Regions from separate parts of the Homo sapiens genome. Here region 1 is linked to region 2. The links are contacts of gene promoters, found by promoter capture Hi-C in blood cells and fetal thymus (Javierre and others, 2016). All regions are on one chromosome and are shown on one strand. The core of a region is centred on a gene start or on the middle of the fragment in contact, and the rest is flanking DNA. Distances in the headings are between cores, read along the strand shown.

Region 1 (3,913 bases), core at 2-2,501, 290 kb before region 2:
TTTCTGGTCTAGAGGCTGCCCAGCTGTGTCCCTAAGCACACTTTGAACCTCTCCTTTTGGTCATTTGAGTCCCCAGTGTAAATTCTTCCTTCAGACGATCAGAGAGCTGCCATAACTTAGTCAGATCCCGGTCAACACTGTATACACTAGAATGGAGAAAAGCAACCCGAGCCTTCCTAGCTAATAAAATCACTGTCCGACTTGGGCAAATAGTTGTCCTTTCCATCTCCTTAGCTGAATAAAAGTAATCTAATTATTTTCAAACACATGATTTCATCTGGACCTCACAACAACACTGAGAGGCAGGGCATGTGGTATTATTAGGTCCATTTTACAGATACAGTCACTGAGGTTCAGGAGACTTAACTTGCTGGAATCAAGCAGTCTATAAGGCACAGAGCAGGGGCCAGAACTTGGGTGCAGGGCTCCTTCAGGGGTTTCCTAATGGCAAGTGGGCCCCTTGGGAAGTAACAGAAAATGATGAAACTGCTTCAAAACAAAGGGATCCCAAAGGGAACAGAATATAAAATTAACTGCCCAAGAAAGGCATTTTGTCATGTACAAGAAATTGATAGGTACCCAGTTGGTATTTCCTCCCACCTGGTAAGGTAAAATCAACATACAGGAATCCTTTTAGCACCTTGGGGGTAAAACACTTGACTCTTGCTTGGTGCTCAACATTGGAGGCCCCAGTTTTGTGCCCATTCCCTCCCGATGATGCCGCAAAAGCTGGAGCATGGCTGTGAGCACCCTGCCTCGATGAGCCGGGCCATCTTTCACATGGTAGGGGCAGGGCCAAGCTGTGGCTCAGCTCTAGAGGGTGCCTTTCACACCCTGGAATGCATGACTGGCACCCCCTGCAGTTGTGCAGGGCACAATGGGAGAGTATTTATTGTCCATGAAAAATCATATGAAGCAGCTGCAAAGAAGTCTAATTGTTTTCCTCATGATATGCCCATGACTCCCTGCACACACACACACACACACACACACACACACACACACACACACACGTACACACACAAACACACACACACCTCAGGAGCTTTGGTCCCAGTTTGCTATATCAGGCCCAAAGCTCTTTCTCTCTTTCAGCCCAAACATCGCTTGAGCCAAGGTAGCTTTCTCCTCCAACTGAGAAAAGTTTCCCTCTTAGAGCCGGCAAACGTGTAGGCGTGACGTTATGCTTAGACACGGCAGGAAGGAGAAGCAGAGTGACAACTCTGAGGGAACCAAGAAAGCCCAAAGGGGAGACAAGGTTTAGAGCGAAATCAAGATCGGATTTTGTCATGAAAGGCAGAACTGGCAAAAGCATCATTACAAGGCATTAACCTTGTTACACACAGACGAACAAGCAGAGGCTGGGATTCAGAAATAAATTACACATAATAAACTAGACAGAATAGGCTGAGAGCAACATTAGCGATTATGCCCTAAGGGGAGAGAAGGGCAAGATAGAAAATAGGCCCGAAAAAAAGAGAGAAAGAATAATCTCTGGACACAGGGGGCTGACTGCACTGTTTCCCCCTTCTTCTGCCTGGCTCCCTGGGTATTAACCTCACTTTTGTGAGGACGTTTCTCCGGAGCCTGTCTTTCTTTTGTTTTCATTTGCTGCAATAAGCATAAGAAAGCCATTCAAAGGGTTCCTTTTCCCATTCACAGGGACCTGTCCATTTCTGTGTGTTTCCAGCACAAAAGAATCCATTTCCATTCAGCCAGAGCAGCCCCTAGAGTTTTCATGAGGTCCAAGCCTCCTCTCCTGTTTTCTTCCAGGCTCGCTGTTGTAATAGGCTGCAAAATCCTGACTGTGGCCAGGGTCCTCCAGGCTGGTGAGAGGAACAAGCATTTGTCCACGTCCTGGTCCCTGCAGCTGGGGAAGAACTGCAGTTTAGTGTCCGCTCCAACAAGTTGTGATTGTCATTTCTTAAACAGTGACTTCCTTTTGGTTCCAAGTAGCAGAAAACGCAACCAACAGTGGCTTAAACCATGACAACTATTGTTAACTTAGTAAAATGTTTAAAAGTTGAAGGTCTGCGGCTCAGTGGTGTCTCCAGGAACATAGAATCTCTTTTCTTTCCCCTGCACCAATCTTAGCATGTTGCTTTGTATCCTTCATCTTGAATCTCATGGAAACAGAACGGTTGCCACGAGTCTATGCATGATGAGATCACACAACTGTATTCCAGAGGAGGAAGTGAGGGAAGAGGGCAAACGGGTTCTCCTCAAGAGGCTTCTGTTATCAATGAGGAAACTTATTCCCAGAAATCCTTCCAGTGGACTTCTCACATCTCCCTGCCCAGGACTGGGCCACATGACCACCCTCAGCTCTAAGGGTTAGGAAAGCCAGTGTCTGGCAATAGGGAATGGAGCTGCCATTTGGCTTGGCCCAACGATAGCTTCCACCAGGCTTGGGTTCATTGCTGTCTGAACAAAATTAGGGTTCTTCTTGGCAAAGAGAAAATAACTGCCATGGGTGTGGCAGTAACTTGTGTTTTTAAATGAAGTAATGATAGCAAGCATGGGTTATGTGTTGCTATGTGCCAAACCTGTTCTAAGCTTTACTGAGGCTTACGCACAAACTCACCCAGTCCTCATAAAAAGTCTGTGGCATAAAAAGTCTGTGCTCTTATCATCATTTCCATCATATGGAGGAGAAAACTGAGTCACAGAGAGATTAAATCACATTTACAAAATTACTTAGCTAGAAAGTGACAGAGCCAGGAGTCAAACTTAGGTGGTCTGGCTGGCTCTCTATGCTATACTGCCTTCATTAGGTAAGATGATAAAATACTTCAGGTAGCACACAGTAAGTATTAGTACATGTTAGCTGGTATTATTATTATTATTATTATTATTATTATTATTATTATTATTACTATCATCATCTCTTTTTTGTAACCACCCTGCCAATCAGACACATCAGCCTTATTAGATACTAGAAAGCTAACCCCTAACAGCATTAAATTAATTGCCCAGGTCACACAGTGAGTGAGAACCAAGCTCAAATGTAAACGAGTGCTGGGTGTTCTCTCAAGTTTGAGAATGTTGATTTAATGGCTGCACCACTTACCCATGCTACTTTTTTTTTTTTAAGGTAAGGTCTCACTTTGTTGTCCAGGCTGGAGTGCAGTGGCTCAATCATAGCTCACTGTAACCTGGAACTCCTGGACTCAAGTGATCCACCTGTCTCAGCCTCCTAAATAGGTGGGACAACAGGTGTGTGCCACACATCTGGCTGATTTTTTATCTCTGTAGAGATGGGGGTCTTGCTATGTTGCCCAGGCTGGTCTCCAACTCTTGGCCTCAAGCGATCCTCTCGCCTCAGTTACCTATACTACTGATCCCGGACTTACTTTGAAAAAAAAACTACAATTGTTGAGGACAGCCAGAAATCAGAGAAGGACACCGGGAAAGGTGAGATGGTAATTTGGGACGGATTTTTCCTTGTTCCGTTTTAGCTTTTGAGCTGCCTCTGTTTTCTTGGATCCAGTCTTTTGCAAACAGGATCTCTCATCCCACCTCAGGAAAGGCTACCCATGGTTCTTGGTGAATTAGAACAGGTACAGTATTAAGCACCTACTGTATACCAGACCTGGCTGTACACTGTCCCACCTGGTCCTTGTGGATAATCTACAGTCCACATCCATTACTTTTTCTGTGTTGTGAGATGAAGGGAATGGAGTCCTCTAGCCAGAGATAGTGGTATTAGAACATTCTGGATACCCAGGCAGAGACGATGCCCTATTCTCCGCGTTAGCCTCTCTGCAGTGTTCAAATATTTAATAAAAATAACAGGCATGGTCAGCTGATCTTACGTTTGAACAATTCTGGATTTATTTTAAAGCAAGATGTGTGGCATGGTTTTACTTATTTTTTTAATCCTAAAGGTCATCCGACTTTTCTTTTTCTGCTC
Region 2 (3,717 bases), core at 904-3,403:
ATTTCAAAGAAGTCATTTAGTCTCATCATGTCTCAAATTTTCTCACATACTTGCTTACTTGAAAGGTTATTGATTGAAAAGATCATTCAAAAAGTGCTCTAAAAACTAACAACTTGCCATAAAAATTTTATCATTAAGGGTTCAATAAGAGGAGACAGTGAGGTGACTGGTAAACCAAGGATTAAAAACTACCTGTGAATAGGCCAGGCACGCTGGCTCACACCTGTAATCCCAGCACTTTGGGAGGTCAAGGTGGGCAGATCGCCTGAAGTCAGGAGTTCGTGACCAGCCTGGGCAATATGGTGAAACCCCATCTCTACTAAAAATACAAAAATTAGCAGGGCATGGTGGCATGCACCTGTAACCCCAGCTACTCGGGAGGCTGAGAGGAGAGAATCACTTGAAACTGGGAGGCGGAAGTTGCAGTGAGCTGAGATCCCACCACTGCACTCCAGCCTGAGCGACAAGAATGAAACTCTGTCTCAAAAAAAGAAAAAAAAAAAAACTACCTGTGAATAATCAGTGTTTCATTCTCCCAGTGCTGCATGGAATTCTAAATTGTATTTCACTATTATTTGAGAATGTTCTAAATACAGTCCGCGCACTTCATCTGATCTGGAAAGAAAACACTCAAAGTAAGGGGAATACCCAGCATACTCTGTCCTAAATAACCAAAGGACAACTCAAAACCATTTGCAACTCTCAGGAGAGTCCTGTGTGACACTTATAATTTAAAGCATTCTGGCCTGGTGCGGTGGCTCACACCTGTAATCCCAGCACTTTGGGAGGCCGAGGTGGGCGGATCACCTGAGGTCGGGAGTTTGAGACCAGCCTGGCCAACATGGTGAAACCCCATCTCTACTAAAATAAAAAAATTAGCCGGGCATGGTGGCACGCACCTGTAATCCCAGCTACTCGGGAGGCTGAGGCAGGAGAATCGCTTGAACCCAGGAGGCGGAGGTTGCAGTGAGCCGAGATCGCGCTACTGCACTCCAGCCTGGGCGACAGAGTGAGACTCAGTCATAAATAAATAAATAAAGCATTCTAACAATTCTGAACAAACTGAGTTTGAAATCAAACCTCAATACAAAAGGTGAGTATTAATTCTAACCACTTACAGGCTAAATTCATAAATATGGAAAATTCTAAATCCAGGTAACTGTAGGATAGATACCTTTAATTGTGTTTTAGTTAAATGTCAGACTTGTTTACAGACATGTTGCTTGGTAACAGAAGCACTGCTTTAACAACCCACTCTGTTTTAGAGCTGCTTAAAGTCTGAACAGATTATGAAGTATATATCATATACACGAAATTCAGACAAGTCTTTCCTTATCCTAGAGATCTGTAAGATTTGAAAGAGCTTCCTCATTTCAGCTAACTAAAGGCTTTACAAATACTTAGCAGTGGATATTCTTAAGAGCAAAATGCCCATTGATTATGGTCAAAAGTTGGACACTGAGGATTAACCAAAGTATTTAAACCCAGCATATGCTAACATATTTTAGGTGTTTATCTCAGTAATGACAGTCGACATCACTGTTCATTCAAATTGTCTTCAAAGCCAAGGAAAATGGTAGCATAGCTTTTTCATCGTAAATTAAGCTGGAGGTACTTAAACGTCTGGCCAATTACCAAACTGGCTACACAACCACCAAGCCAGAGTGCATCCAAAAGCTCCATGAAGAGTTTCACGTGCGTCTCTCTGCCTACTTTTCTAGCACGAGCTTCCACTACTTTAACAGGAAAATAAAAAAAGGATTCAAGGGCAGTTTGTGGAGGGACAAAATGAGTATTCCAAAATACAAACAAGACACCGTCCCCAGAAAGAGAGGTTACATACCAGACGCACGCACGCTCCTTGCAACCCGCACACGGAAAACTTAAGTGACCGCAGTTCTGGCCGCGCTCGCCACCGGGGACACCTCCACAGCTCCAACCACAGGCACCCACTCAACTCCGCTTACGGAGGCATTGGGACTAAGGGTTACGGTCCTACAGCGGGGTGTCGGCCCAGCGAGAGGAAGAGGGCCGAACGGACCCCTCGGGCTCCCGTCCCTAGGGAAATGTGAAGTATCCCGGGAGAGGTCCGAGGGCGGCGGCGGCGGCGGTGAAAAGCCCCACTCCTCCGCGTGGACCGGGATCCTCAGGGGTGCGGCGCCACCCCACGTGCTGACGTATGGCCCAGAAGCCGCCTCATCGCACCGCCCCACCAGCCTGGAGGAGCGGGCTCTGTCCCTTGGCCCAGCGGCACGCGAAGCAGGAAGTCCCACCCCCCACGCCGACGTCACCCACGCCACCGACGCCGGTTGCTGCCGGAGCCGTTAGAGGGAGGAGACAAACGAACCGAGGCGGGAGCGGCCACGGGTGACAGCGGCAGCGGCGGGGCCGGGCTGCGCTCCCGAAGGCGTTCCTGGAGGGCCCTGGGATGGACTCAGAGATCCCCAGAGCCCCAGGGGACGGAAAATCTAGCCCCGGGCACTTGCCTTGGAGTCTGAGTGATGCGCGTCGTTGGAGCGCGAAGCCGGTCTCCCTAGCCTCCGCCCGACACAGCGTCTCCAGGGGTTTTCCTCCTTTTCGCGCCTCTCCTTCCCTCTTCCCCACACCATTTGAGAGCCTCAAATGGTAGTCCTGCCGCCACCTCTCTCCCTTCGCCAGCCTGCCATCGTCCCCATGGGTGCAGATATGCGCTCCCGAAGCCGCCTGCCTGCCGCGTCTGCCTCGGGCATCAGCCCACGAGTGGGGAGTCGGCTCAGCTTGCCACGAGGGAACCTCGGGTTAGGACCAATCGCCCGGGAGAGAGCCCTCCTCGCCCCCGCACCTCCTGCTCCAAGTCTCCTGTCCTGGTTATCCCAAGTTCAGGGCCCACCTGGGGTCACATGGGGAACTACTTGTCTTAAGGCTGTAAACAATAGTTGGAAGAGGAGTTGCTAGCTTTTGAGAACTTCCATGATCATCCAAAGTCTGAAACAAAGTAGGCGGTCAGCCTTTCAAAATACGTGTTGGAAGAAACAGACACCTTCCCATCCCCAGCGTTTGTTCAGTGCCTTGGTTGGGCTTTGATTCTCACTGCTTTGTGAAGTACAGCTTATTTTTACCCCCAAGATTATGATTTTCAGGCTGTAGTTATTATTGGACAACTGAGAGGTGATTTTGTTGTTGTTGAAATGAGGGAAAACGGGCCATTAGAAAGGACCGTGTCTCTTAAGAGGAGGGAAAAAAAGGACAGCGAGTTGGTAATGGAATGTTGCTGGATGGATTACATAGATGAGACATGGGAGATAGAATAGAGAATCCAGAAATTCTCATGTATGTGTGCGTGTTTAGTATAATAACAGTAGCTCACATTTGCTGAGCATTTGTGTGGCAAGTACTGGAGTACTTTTTCAGGTTATCTTATTTAACTCTAACATTTCTGTAAGGTAGGTGCAATTGTTATCTCCATTTCACAGAGTTGCCCAAAACCATTACTTTTAAACGCTGGAGCCAGACAACTCCAGAAATCTCTGTGGTAGCCAGTAAACTATACATGACAAATTATTGGTCAGTAGGAAAAAGATCATTCGGGAAATGGCGGTGGCTCACGCCTGTAATCCCAGCACGCTGGGAGGCCAAGGCAGGTGGATCACCTGAGGTCAGGAGTTCGAGACGACCCTGGCCAACATGGTGAAATCCCATCTATTAAAAATACAAAAAGCCAAGAAAAACAAATATTCA

The links. Contacts are between HindIII fragments. The CHiCAGO score rates a contact against its expected background, and 5 or more counts as called.
Region 1: a contact is called between a fragment that was not itself captured here and the fragment with the promoter of CEP83 in region 2, in 1 of 17 cell types (fetal thymus). The highest score is 5.0, in fetal thymus.

What each region holds. Positions count from the first base shown.
Region 1 is chr12:94,163,694-94,167,606 of GRCh38, forward strand. The region is part of intron 1 of PLXNC1 (plexin C1); the gene reads left to right. Among named protein-coding and RNA genes, the nearest start is that of PLXNC1-AS1, 11 kb to the right of the region's middle. The HindIII fragment of the contact is 2,605 bases long and covers 1-2,554 here.
Region 2 is chr12:94,457,714-94,461,430 of GRCh38, forward strand. It overlaps CEP83 (centrosomal protein 83), which reads right to left and starts at 2,154. Exons shown (of 17, transcript NM_016122.3): 1 at 1,844-2,154. It overlaps CEP83-DT (CEP83 divergent transcript), which reads left to right and starts at 2,290. Exons shown (of 1, transcript NR_027035.1): 1 at 2,290-3,717. RefSeq lists an enhancer at 2,571-2,620. The HindIII fragment of the contact is 10,845 bases long and covers 1-3,717 here.